Regions from separate parts of the Homo sapiens genome. Here all the other regions are linked to region 1. Evidence: promoter capture Hi-C in human tissues and cell types (Jung and others, 2019). All regions are on one chromosome and are shown on one strand. The core of a region is centred on a gene start or on the middle of the fragment in contact, and the rest is flanking DNA. Distances in the headings are between cores, read along the strand shown. Region 1 holds the start of KRT5 (keratin 5). Region 2 overlaps KRT75 (keratin 75). Region 3 overlaps KRT2 (keratin 2).

The links. Contacts are between HindIII fragments. The study calls those that stand out against the background at their distance.
Region 2: a contact is called between a fragment that was not itself captured here and the fragment with the promoter of KRT5 in region 1, in 3 of the 25 tissues and cell types used here (H1 embryonic stem cells, aorta and spleen).
Region 3: a contact is called between a fragment that was not itself captured here and the fragment with the promoter of KRT5 in region 1, in 4 of the 25 tissues and cell types used here (H1 embryonic stem cells, dorsolateral prefrontal cortex, liver and 1 more).

What each region holds. Positions count from the first base shown.
Region 1 is chr12:52,519,144-52,523,534 of GRCh38, reverse strand. KRT5 (keratin 5) reads left to right here and starts at 3,141. Exons shown (of 9, transcript NM_000424.4): 1 at 3,141-3,793; 2 at 4,375-4,391. The coding sequence starts at 3,239. RefSeq lists enhancers at 269-1,234, 4,054-4,391. The HindIII fragment of the contact is 8,601 bases long and covers 1-4,391 here.
Region 2 is chr12:52,424,889-52,429,400 of GRCh38, reverse strand. KRT75 (keratin 75) reads left to right here. Exons shown (of 9, transcript NM_004693.3): 6 at 658-783; 7 at 925-1,145; 8 at 2,550-2,584. Among named protein-coding and RNA genes, the nearest start is that of KRT75, 7.2 kb to the left of the region's middle. The HindIII fragment of the contact is 7,225 bases long and covers 1-4,512 here.
Region 3 is chr12:52,645,827-52,650,182 of GRCh38, reverse strand. KRT2 (keratin 2) reads left to right here. Exons shown (of 9, transcript NM_000423.3): 3 at 209-269; 4 at 1,081-1,176; 5 at 1,846-2,010; 6 at 2,328-2,453; 7 at 3,223-3,443. Among named protein-coding and RNA genes, the nearest start is that of KRT2, 4.2 kb to the left of the region's middle. The HindIII fragment of the contact is 3,386 bases long and covers 640-4,025 here.

The DNA.
Region 1 (4,391 bases), core at 1,892-4,391:
ATATACATTCTGTTATACATAGGTTGGTGTAGATATAGGTTGGTGCAAAAGCAATTGAGGTTCTTGCCATTGTGGGCTTCACATAACAATCTGGGGAAGGAGCGGAGGAAGAGGATTTTCTGTCTGTCAATTCACTCCAAAAAATATCTGCAGAACACTTCCAGTGCCCAAGGCTGGGCTGAGGGTGTGGGCCATGCAGAGATGTTCCCTAACCTTGGAGACTGCCCTGCTGGGGGGGACTTAGAGGATATGTACAAATGCTGTTTTATGGAACATGTTCTATTTATCATGCTCTATTAAATGTATCTTCTACTAAAGCCCTACAGATTGGAGTGGAGGCTCTGAGGAGAAGGAATCCTGGGCTGGGATGGCAGGATTTGCCTAACCCTTGTTCCACGAATGGATACCACCCTCTCCCTGGTGTCTGTGAAGGGCTTCTCCATGTATGAAATGCTGACCAGGTCCTACATTCCCTGCACAGCTCTGCGAGAGAGGTCAGGGCAGCCAGCTTACTGTCCTTTCTCTGATGGGGAGAGCAGCAGGGCGGGCCCTGCACTGTCTTCTGCTGACAAGGAAAGCAGCACCCAGAGGAGAAGCTGAGCAACATGTCCCACCAAGCCTGGGAACTGCCTCTGTGGGGTGCCCAGCAGGAAAGCTCCCTGGTGAGCCTAACACAATCCCTCCCTTCCTGCCACAGTGAAATTCCAGGCTGGGGTGGGACTCTCCCGAGCTGCAGTGGTGCTGGTGCCTGGCTCCCCACCAGGAGCGGCTCCATTATTTATACCTGTCCAGGTCTGGCATTGAGGGAGGGGCTGCCCTGCCTGCTCATGGGAGGATTCCCACGAAGCTCGGATAGAAGAGTGCTGCTGCTTCTCCCATGGAGCACCCACATGCTCCCTGCTCCCATGGAGCACCACACACTCACCGTTGGTCCCTGGCACATGGATCTGAGCTTGGCACACTCTAGCAATCCTCAGACTAGCCAGAACGCATTCCTGCTCTGCCAAGTCCTCTTTCTTCACAACACAGCTGGGAGGAGAATGAATGGGGAGAAGAGAATGTCCCAGTGTCTCAGGAGGGGTGGGGCTTCCCTGAGGGCAGTGAGGTCTGTACCCGGGACCTGTGAGTGTATGTGGTGGTGGGGATATACCCCGATATCGATCTTTGAGTGGAGCAGGAGCATCCCACTACGAGTCCTCAGACACTTGCTTCAGGCTTGGATCTGTTCTGTTCTATCAGGAGCCGAGGGTCCCCTGGTATGTCTCAGGCCTCCAGGACACTCACATCTGTTCTCCAGAAAGCAACCAAATGTGAAAATGGTGAGCTCAGCACAATTCATCTCTGAGGGTCTCAGAAATGCTCCAGCCAGGGAGGCCACCCAAACCATTTTGCTCAAGACCTGTAAGACCGGCTCCGGCCATTGGTCTGTCTGCCGAGATTGACCTGTCAGCTGCTTGCTCATCGCAGCCCTCTGGTGAGAAGTCACTGTTTCAGCTGATCCTCAGCACCAGGGAGTCATTTTCCCACTGCCTTGGCTTCCTTGTGGCCAACCGCAGGCCCTGGTGAGAGATTCCTGAGCCTGGGTCTGGTCCTGTTCTTCTACTCTTGAGAATATAGCCCCTCCTCCCTGAGGCTTTGAAGCCATCCCCATTGCATTCCTACCTCCAGCCTCGGGCCACAGGGCGCCCCCGAAACTCTGAACAGCCCAAGCACTGTCCTGCCTGAGAGCCCTGCTTCTATTTGGGGGACGGCAGAGAGGTGGCCCCACTCAGATCTGCTGCCAAAAAGAGTGGGTGTGGTTTAGAACAGACGTGTGTTAAAACCTCATCAGAAACCCCCTTTCCTCCACCTGGTGCCACAACCCCCCAGACAAGTTTTGCAGAGGGGATCTCAAAGGGCCCTCCCTAAAGCAGCTGGCAGATTGTCATGCCAGCTGCCTGGGCCCACAGGCCTGCTCTGGCTAGCCTTTCTGGCAGGACAATCCATAGACTTAGAATCCCGTTTTCCATTGCCTTGGCCCTGAAGGAGGCTGTGGGCTACAGCATAGAGAAAGCAGAGCAAGTCCCGCTGCTTGGAACAGGGTGGTTCGCCGTTATAACAGGCCGTCAGACTCTCAACATGTTCCTGATGAGATTAGAAGCTCCTGCAGGTATGTGTTTGTGGCGGCCTTCAGCCTGTATCAACACATACGATGACTCATTTCTTCCCTAGTGGAATAGAGCTTGCTGGAACACACCTGGGGGGCTGGGGAACCGGCAGAGTAGCTACCCCCAAAGAGAGACGCTATAGCCCATGAGTCTCAGGGTTTTTTTTTAAGGGATTGCATGGGATCCCCGGGTTTCCTAAACCCCCCACAGAGTCCTGCCCAGGCCAAAGAGCAAGGAAAAGGTCAAAGGGCAGAAAAAATGCTGAGTTAGGAGGAGCTATGGAAGGATAAACCTGGCCTTAAAGAGGTCAAAGTGGTTTATAGGGGGCGCTGAGGGCTTCCCACATTCTCTGGCCTAAACCTTGCAGGCAGATCTGCCCAGTGGGCTCTGGGATAGCTGTGCCTTCCCTAAGAAAAAAATTGTGCAGAAAAGGATGAAACTCTATTTTCCCTCTAGCACATAACCAAGAATATAAGGCTACAGATTGCCTTTCCCAGAGGGGAAAACCCTGCAGCAACCTGCTGCCTGGAAAAGTGTAAGAGCAGATCACTGGGGAATCGTTTGCCCCCCGCTGATGGACAGCTTCCCCAAGCTGGAAGGGCAGGTGCTCAGCATGTACCGTACTGGGATGGTTGTCAATACTCCTGGTCCTGTAAGAGTCCCCAGGACACTGGCCATGCCAATGCCCCCTCAGTTCCTGGCATCCTTTTTGGGCTGCTCACAGCCCCCAGCCTCTATGGTGAAGACATACTTGCTAGCAGCGTCACCAACTTGCTGCCAAGAGATCAGTGCTGCAAGGCAAGGTTATTTCTAACTGAGCAGAGCCTGCCAGGAAGAAAGCGTTTGCACCCCACACCACTGTGCAGGTGTGACCGGTGAGCTCACAGCTGCCCCCCAGGCATGCCCAGCCCACTTAATCATTCACAGCTCGACAGCTCTCTCGCCCAGCCCAGTTCTGGAAGGGATAAAAAGGGGGCATCACCGTTCCTGGGTAACAGAGCCACCTTCTGCGTCCTGCTGAGCTCTGTTCTCTCCAGCACCTCCCAACCCACTAGTGCCTGGTTCTCTTGCTCCACCAGGAACAAGCCACCATGTCTCGCCAGTCAAGTGTGTCCTTCCGGAGCGGGGGCAGTCGTAGCTTCAGCACCGCCTCTGCCATCACCCCGTCTGTCTCCCGCACCAGCTTCACCTCCGTGTCCCGGTCCGGGGGTGGCGGTGGTGGTGGCTTCGGCAGGGTCAGCCTTGCGGGTGCTTGTGGAGTGGGTGGCTATGGCAGCCGGAGCCTCTACAACCTGGGGGGCTCCAAGAGGATATCCATCAGCACTAGTGGTGGCAGCTTCAGGAACCGGTTTGGTGCTGGTGCTGGAGGCGGCTATGGCTTTGGAGGTGGTGCCGGTAGTGGATTTGGTTTCGGCGGTGGAGCTGGTGGTGGCTTTGGGCTCGGTGGCGGAGCTGGCTTTGGAGGTGGCTTCGGTGGCCCTGGCTTTCCTGTCTGCCCTCCTGGAGGTATCCAAGAGGTCACTGTCAACCAGAGTCTCCTGACTCCCCTCAACCTGCAAATCGACCCCAGCATCCAGAGGGTGAGGACCGAGGAGCGCGAGCAGATCAAGACCCTCAACAATAAGTTTGCCTCCTTCATCGACAAGGTGAGCTACGATCTTTTGTAAAAAATCACTGTGGGTCTGAAATAAATGCCAAAGAGAGAGAAAGAAGGAAGATGTTTTGGCTTTGTGCAAATACTTTTATAGTTGTACAGTTCTGTGTTTCCGTTTGTTTCTGTGCCCTGGATTTGTGGACACGTTCTGAATTAGACTGGCAGCTGGGAAGGGAGAATTATTTCTTCCCATTCAGAGGTTAGCTCACAAGGGCCTCTTAACAACTGTTGGACAGAGAGATGAATTTCATGCCATATATAAAGGGGCTGACTGTACAGGAAGGTAGACAAGTGCATGGGCAGCAGCCTGAGTGCCTTTGCAGCCACCCCTGAGCCGGGACACACTCCAAGCAGCACTCCTAGTGCTTTCTGTGCCCTGGATAGGTGTCCTATCTCCCCCTGGAAAAGTGAGTTTGGGTGCCTCAGTCTGCACCTCCCCTCCTGGGGCCCAGGGCCAGGCACAGTGCACAGAAAAGCTTTAGAGGGACGGAAAGAGGTGGGAGGCACCTTAGTGAGTTGATCATAGAACATGAAATCCAAGTTTCTCTATCTTCAAACCCTGCTCCCCTCCAGGTGCGGTTCCTGGAGCA
Region 2 (4,512 bases), core at 472-2,971, 93 kb after region 1:
GAGAACTACCTGAGATTGGGAATACTTTTACAAAGTCTTCAAAATTGTGCCTTCCACAGCCTCTGCACCATCCCACACCATTCCCCCATATCTCCTCCCTGTTTCCCCAGCACTGGTGTTTGGAGGGCTACCAAAATTCATGGGCACAGTTGGTCTGGATGCACGCTCTGTGACCAGGAACTACCCAGGGACCTTGATCAAATCACCGTCTCACTCCTAGAACTCACCATGTTCCTTCCCTGACCCAGAGTCTTCATGCAGGCTGTTTCCTTTGTCTGGAATGTTCTCCCCCACAACTGGTCACTTAGGTCCCTCCTTCTCATCCTTCAGACCACAGTTCAAGCATCTCCATCTCTGGAGAGACTTCTCTGACCACCACTTCCCACTTCCAAATCTAGGTCAGATTCCTTCATTACACTCTCCCAGGACCCTGTTCATTTCCTAAGGGCACTTATCTTAGTGTGGAACTATACATTTGATAATATGCTAATTCAGTTAATGTCTATGTCCCCCAATAAACTGTAAGCTTCAGGGGGAATGAGTGAATGACCAGGAATGAATGAGCCTGCTTGTGGCACCCAGGGTGGGTCTGTGTGCACAGCGAGTGCCTGGGCCAGGCATTTGACTCAGTGACTGGGTTTGCTCTGGTTCTCTCAGTACGAGGAGCTGCAGGTCACCGCAGGCAGACATGGGGATGACCTTCGAAACACCAAACAAGAGATCTCTGAAATGAACCGCATGATCCAGAGGCTGAGAGCTGAGATTGACAGCGTCAAGAAGCAGGTAAAGATTTGGCAGGGCCAAGAGCTCCTCAAATGCTCATTTCTTCTGGGCCTTTCTGCCATCTTTAAGAACTCCTCCCCAAGAAGCACCACACCTCCATGGGCTGTCAGCAGGACTCATGGCTTCCTCCTGTCCTTACAGTGTTCCAGCTTGCAAACGGCCATTGCTGATGCAGAGCAGCGGGGAGAACTGGCTCTCAAGGATGCACGGGCCAAGCTGGTGGACCTTGAGGAGGCCCTGCAGAAGGCCAAGCAGGACATGGCTCGGCTCCTGCGTGAGTACCAGGAGCTGATGAACATCAAGCTGGCCCTGGACGTGGAGATCGCCACCTACCGCAAGCTGCTGGAAGGCGAGGAGTGCAGGTGAGGCAGATGCACCAACTTCATCCTCAAAGCAAGTTGAGCTCACCTCAGCTTCCTGGGCATTCCTAGGGGCTCGGGCTGTTGCAGCCCCTTCTTCTCCTGGAAGAAAATGCAGTTCAGAATTGGGCTATGGCAAAAAAATAATTTTAATTTCCTTCCAGGCTAGTAAATCATTTGAGGTGCAACTACAGTTAGCATCCCCATAGAAACCTAAAACCTGATCAGGTCTAAGTAACTGAATTCTACCAAAGGAGACATTTGGTTACATGGCAGCTCTCGAAATGTGGTCTAAAAGGCCATGGGCTGAGAACAAACAGTCCTAGGATTTGGGCTTACAGATCTAACACTAAGTAGCTACATAACCTTGGGAAAGTCAGTCTCCCTTCTCTGGCCCTCAATTTCTTCAATGATAAAATGAAAAGGTCAGATTACATGATCCGCAAAGCTTCATGGGAGCTTTGTGCTCTGCCAGTTAGGAGCTGTGTAGCCAAGAGCAGATACTTAACCTCTCCACCTCTCAGTGTTCTCATCCAATAAAATGTGAATAACAATAGTTCTAAACTCTCACATTATTAAAAGGGTTAAAATAAGGGAATACACACAAAGCTCTTAGAACAATGCATGGTACACAGCGTGTTCGATAAATGTTAGCTATCATTCAGTTTCATGGCCAAAGACATAGGCTTTGGTGTCAGATGAATCTGTCTTCAAGTCCAGCTTTGCGACTATGGGCAAGTTAGTTAACTTGTCTGAGCTTCCATTTCTCCCTCTATAAAAGTGAGCAAATAATACCTACCTCATGGGGTTGTTGAGAGAACTAAGTGGTGTGATATAAGTAACAGGTAATCAACAGCTGTTACCTCTTGTTAAGTTTCTCAGTATGTGTTTATGAATGAATGCCAGTTCTGTCCTGAAGATGCTAAAGCAAAGTTACTTGGTTGCTAAGATAATAATAAACTGATATTACTATTGTTATTTTTATGACTCAGACGCCTCTCCACACCTATATACAATAAGCTCAGCCCTGGCTCAGTGCATGACAATGGTCCCTTGTTGAGAGACAAATCTTATTATAGGACAGGCCCTTCTTTCCAGTTGATGCCAGTATATGATTACTTTTAATTTCCTTAAGGCATCTAACTAGTTTAAACCAAAAATTGTATTTCTGAGATTATAGATTTTGCTCCTGTGAACCTCAAACTCCACCTTATTTTATTCATTAGATTATTAATATTATCTTTAATACTACTAGTTCTCAAATAATTTCAACCTGCATTACTTCTGCAATAAAAATAATAAAGTATGTTTAAATGCTTTGTCAACAATTACAAAAGTGTCATTGCAAAGGCCCTTAAGCTGCTGGCCACATTGGTAACCTTCCTTCTCCCTGCTCTTCCCAATCAGGTTGAGTGGAGAGGGAGTTTCTCCAGTTAACATTTGTGAGTATGACATACTTCTTGGGCCATTTGGAGTGTGTGTGGTAGAGGGGATGGGGATGTGGTGGGCTTGCCAGAGGGTGAAGATATGACGGGTTAGACGGGATCTCACAGACAGCGTTCATTTGGAGAAGGTTTGAGGTTTTGGGTCCCTTAAAAAGCAAGCCATATTAGGAGTCTTTAATGTCACAGTTCTTTCCTCTTTGAGAGTGAGGGTGTCACAGAAGGGGTGATGAGAGGTTTGATGTCATTGTTCTGAGTGGGTTTAAAAGATCCTGGCCACATCTCCTACCTCCCAGAATTCCCTGCCTTTTTGTTGGGGCTGCAAGCCTAGCACAGAGGTGAGCACTTGATGTAGACGGGATTTATGAAAATTCCTGGTCTGGCTTGGACCTTTGAAGGGAGCCTTCATGCTGTGGACAAGAGCATTGCCAACTAGGCAGCTTCTCTCCTAAACAGTTTGAGAAGAAGCTCCACTGCTTGGCTCAACTCTGCCGAGTATAACTGCAGAAGGATGCCAAGGGTTTTCAAGGCAGTAAGGGCAGCATAAAATATGGCAGTTGGCTACAGTAGCTCTAAAACAGGAGAGGTATTAACAAGCTGGCATGGCCCTGTGCTGGTGAGAGAAGAAGTGGTCATTCGCAGAGCTCAGTGCTGGCATCACAAGGGCAACAGAAATGACTCTTACAACTCACCCTCTACAAGTGAGTTTGAGTTTGGTTTTCTTGATGGGCATTCATAAGGGCAATTCATTATATTAGCCAATGATTCTAGAAGGCAGAGCCCTCTGAACCACCCAGGTGTCCTTCCTCCCTGATGTCTTTGTCTAGTGGTGCCAGAGACCCTCAAAGCTAATTTTGGGGACAGGCCTTCAAGCATAACCTTGAAGCTCCTTTTCTCTTGAAAACACCTAATTGTCTGTATTAGTTTTCCAGGGCTGTTGCAAAAAGTACCACCAGTCAGGTGGTTTAAAGCAACAGAAATGTCTTGTCTCACAGTTCCGGAGGCTGAAATTAAGGGTTAGCAGGGCCCTGGTCCCTCTGAAACTTGGAGCCTGGACCAGCCTCCTGCTCTGTATATCATGCAGGGTGGCACTATCCCCTCTCCAAACCAGATAGTGTTCTGGAACACGGAGGCAGCATGGGCAGCCCAGCCCCCCTCCAGCCTCCTCCTAGCTCTGGCGGTGGCCATCCATCCTCGGTGTTCCTTGGCTTGTGGCTGCATCCCTCCACTCTCTGTTTCTGTGATTGTATGACCGTGTCCCTGTGTGTCTGTGGCTTCAGATGAATGTCTTCCTTCTTTCTGTATGGACACCAGTCATGTTAGATCAGGGCCCACCCTACAGACTTTATCTTAACTTGGTTATACCTGCAACGATCCCATTTCCAAATAAGGTTGCATTCACGGATACTGGTGTTAACACTTCACCATAGGTTTTTGAAGGACACAATTCATCCTATAACGGAGTCTATTTTTTTAAAATTTGATTTTCCTTCGGCAGGACCCAAAGTAGGGTGCTAGAATGTGTAAGGGGATGAGTTATAAATTAGGAGAAGAATAGGTTGGGAGGAGAACGGGGGCAGAGTTCACTGGCCAACAGGTTAATCTGTCACTTGATCCATCAAGAATATTCCAGCCTCCACCCTGGGATTCTGAGTGTGGGGCTGGGAGACGCTGAGGGAAGAGGAGTGTGCCCCTCCCCCCATAAGCATCCAGAAGGAAGAGAAACTCTGGAGTCAGGCTCAGACAGGGAGACAGACCCAGACGGCACAGCAGGAGGATCAAAGGGAAAGCAGGTGGACTGGAGCTGCTTCCAGGAGGAGAGGGCTCCAGTAGGTTCTGGAAGGGGAGGAGGAAGCCATTCCAGCCTAAGAGGCTGCCTGGAGCTGCAGCTCAGGAACACAGGCAGTGATCTCACTAAGCAGGGGACA
Region 3 (4,356 bases), core at 1,083-3,582, 130 kb before region 1:
TTTAGAGATCATTTTTGTCTTTTGTATGTTTGAGAGTTAGTTTATAAAAATATATCTTTAGTTTGGAAATCTTAGTTTCAATTTAGATATTTAAAAAGTGTGTAATATTCCCAGAGAATGGGGCATTTGGGGTGAATCCAGTATAAAAGGAAAAGAAAAAAAATGAAGGGGAACTAATCTAACTGCTGTAACATCTGTGTCCCAATAGGTATGAGGATGAAATCAATAAGCGCACAGCTGCTGAGAATGATTTTGTGACGCTTAAAAAGGTGAGCGAGAGAATGTCTTGGCTGGGGGTGGGGATAGGAGTGCTTCACAGCCCCATTGTGTCTAAGCAGCCAGTTTGGAAATCAACTGTGAGTGCAAAAGCAGCAGCCAGAGAAAGGAGTGAGACCCATGGCACATTCTCTTGCAAACAAAATTGTCTCTGTAGGTCAAGCTTCTGGATACAGTTTTCAAAGCTGTTCTGCATTTTTGGTAGAGTGCTTCCCAGTAGTAACCCACTTAAAGCCTCTACTGAATCATGATAAATGCAAACACAAAAATCTCTTTGTATTCTCCTTCTAAAGAGCTGAGGAAGGAATGGGACTTCCCTTAGAATGCCTGCTTAAAGTTGCTGTTGGTTGTGCTGACAAAGGTTTGAGGTTGTAGGCCAAAAGCAAGGGTTCTCCTGCTGGGTCCTGCAGGGCCTTTGGTGTATATTCTGGGGAAATTTCGGAGAGGTGAGATGGACAGACGGGATGAGAGAGCTGAGGACTGTGGAAACCCACAAAGAACATCGTATCCTGTTGTAGAAACACACAGTGTCTCAAGCAGGAGAGAGGGGCTGGTTGGCAAAGCTTGGTCATCTCGAGGCTCTGATGGTCCTGAGGGCTGTGAGCCATGGACGTAGGCATGAAGTCCCTGGCAGAGGTGTATGGTAAACTGCACGACAAAAGAAGTCCCATGGGGACAGGGATCAGGTTGGGGAGCCTGGGATTTTAGAGAGGAGCCAGCAGGGACTGAGTAGAGGGGAGTGGCAGAGAGAGGAAGAGGCCTGTACAGGGAACCATACACCAGAGGCCTCAACCTTTCTTGCAGGACGTGGACAATGCCTACATGATAAAGGTGGAGTTGCAGTCCAAGGTGGACCTGCTGAACCAGGAAATTGAGTTTCTGAAAGTTCTCTATGATGCGGTAAGGAGGCTGCTCCGGGACAGTCCCTTACTTCCCACCCTTCTCACCAAATGAAAGTCCTTTCTGCTTGGTGAAAAAGTGGCAGAAGTGGGGTTTATGGACCAGCTGACTTCAATCTGCCATCATTCCAGGCCACTGGGGGGGCTTTCATAGCATAGGTCTTGTGGGTGAGGAATTTTCTCCTCCGATGTTATGGGAATAAGGTTCAGGAAACACCAGGACAGCTTCCCCTCCCTCCATTCCCCAGATGTCCATTTCCCCTGGGGAAGAGACAAGCCCTGTGCCCATTCCTGTGCCTACTGTACTTCAGAGGTCAAAATGCATTTGTCTCCTATCCCCCTCCCCAACCCAAGGGTGCACAGATGATTTCTGAAACAGGAAGTCCATTTAAGGTATTTGCCATGGACAAGCTTCTGTCTGGGGGCACTTACCATAACTGGCTTAAGTGCTGAATGTTAACTAGGAGGCTCAGAAATACAGGTGCCTCTCACTACAATTCTCAGGACAACCTTGGGAGAGGCCCAGGAGTAGACGGTTACATGATTTTCATCCCACCTAGTGTATGCTTAGTCTGAGGGTCTGCGTTTCCCTTATGCTGGGAGACAGAGGCCTCCTGTCTGCCTGTAGCTATGGCAGGATGTCATGACCAGACCTTCCTGTGTGTTGTAGGAGATATCCCAGATACATCAGAGTGTCACTGACACCAACGTCATCCTCTCCATGGACAACAGCCGCAACCTGGACTTGGATAGCATCATCGCCGAGGTCAAGGCCCAGTATGAGGAGATCGCCCAGAGGAGCAAGGAAGAAGCGGAGGCCCTGTACCACAGCAAGGCAAGTAGAGGGAATGTAGGAAGAGCCACAGCTCCCTGCCATGAGCTGGGTTGCACCCCCAGCTGGAAAGTGTACAGTAAGGTTATTGGTTTTTTGTTTAATGGTAGTTGGGCACCATTCCCAAGAAAGGATGTTGAGAATGGCACCAAGTCCTTTTGGGCATGTGAGACAGTCCCTACCTCTCATGAATGCAGCCATGACATTTAGCTGGGTTGACCCTCCCTGGACCAGTAACCAGCTCTCCTTCACTCCAGTCAGTCTGGAATGTGAGCCAGGCTGGAACTTCCTTGCAAACTGTCCTCTTCTCCCCATATCAGTATGAGGAGCTCCAGGTGACTGTCGGGAGACATGGAGACAGCCTGAAAGAGATCAAGATAGAGATCAGCGAGCTGAACCGCGTGATCCAGAGGCTGCAGGGGGAGATCGCACATGTGAAGAAGCAGGTGAGGCCCAGCCCTGTCCAGCGAGGGGCGGGAGGTTGTCTCTGGGTGTGCGTGAGAGTGTGGTTGTGTGTGAGTGTGCATGTGAGAGATGAGAGACACTGAGATATTGCACTCTAGCATGTATCGATCCCAAATTCCCCAGCTTAACATAATTTATGGCTTATTATAACAATTCTTAGAGTGCTCTAATAGACATTCCAAAGTAAGGATTATCGAAGGGAAAGAATTGTGCTCACTTGTTTATATGAGGAAAAGGGAGTCATAACAAATAGAGCAAACGTTAGTTTGATTGATTTGCTGCAGATTGCCGATGGAGCTTCCCGTTTGTGCTCAGCACAGGCCCTGAGCACCAGCCGACTGGTTTCATAGAGGGGCAGTGAGTATTGAGGGCAGCTGGCCTGGGGCTGGACGTTAGCTTTGGAATAGAAAAGGTAGAGGCAGAGAGTGGATTCCATCAGCAGCAGAAGCTTTGCCAAGCAGACCATTTCAAATGTTTTCATTTCCATCTGTAAAATGGGATCATGATTCAGGCCCTGTGATGTGAGGATCAAAGGGCACTATGGGGAAAGCCAAAGGGTGTCATCAACGGTGACATGGGAAGAAGATGTGCCAGAGACAGCGGCAAGTCTTAGCACAGTTGTTTGCGACTAAACTCCAGAGGGGACCTAACACTCCCAGGGCCAGTGGTTCTGGCTTCCTGCACTTCGAACACCTCTGCTCTCTGTCCGCCTCCGTCAGGCAGAATCCATTCTCTGTCCTTCTGTCATAGTGTAAGAATGTGCAAGATGCCATCGCAGATGCCGAGCAGCGTGGGGAGCATGCCCTCAAGGATGCCAGGAACAAGTTGAATGACCTGGAGGAGGCCCTGCAGCAGGCCAAGGAGGACTTGGCGCGGCTGCTGCGTGACTACCAGGAGCTGATGAACGTGAAGCTGGCCCTAGATGTGGAGATCGCCACCTACCGCAAACTGCTGGAGGGCGAGGAGTGCAGGTGAGGGCACTGGGAAGGGAGAAGGGGACCCTGGCCCTTCCTCTCATCTCTCCCAGAGCCAGGGCTGGAGGCAAAGACAGGGAAAGCAGAGAATGGGGCAGGCCCTCCTGACAACTGAGAACTGACATTCTCTGTGTTCCCCAAGCAGAAACTCAGGACATAAAGCATGATTGGAGAGTTACACATTTATCAACATGAAATGATGCATAAGGCACATTAAATTAAACTAAGCAGTAAGTTAAACATCCTGGTCTTTTCTGAAAGAGAAAACAAAATCATGGGAAAACAGGTTAGTCCTAGACAGTCTGAAACTTTGGTCTCTAGGTCCATAGGGTGAGTGGCTTCTGTGCCCTCCACCGGGTGACCCAGAATGGGGGAGATGATGTCTCGGAATGTGCTGACTGGTGGGGACGTGCTGACCGGAGCAGGTGCCAGCCCCAGTTCTTTGCAGGTTTCTGGAGTGACAAATGGAACCATTTGCTAACTTTCAAAGAGGCACCCTTTGCTTCCTCTGTAGTCTGAGACCTTTGTCCGTATTATCAGCATCTTGGGTGACTTAATCTGGCTGAAGCAATTGGAAGGGGAAAAGCTACCCCAGGCCATCAGCAAGCCAGCATGACAAACAGGGAGTGGCTTTCTTCAGGAGGTTGCTCTGTCCCTGTCTAGAGGCAATGCCTCCTATGCCCAGCTTGTAAGAGGAAGTGGGAAAGTTTTCAGTTGAAGCTGAAGAGGGTGGGAAGAAGAGAGGAATGGGGAGGCTCTACAGAGTCACAGTTCTTTCTGAACTGAATGTTCACAGGCAGCCTCATTGTATAATTTCTGATGTGGCATGGATTCTGAATAACAGACTCTCCAAGATGGATTTAAATACACAAATGGGTTGCAAAGTAGGAAGTGAATTTGCTTTTCAGTG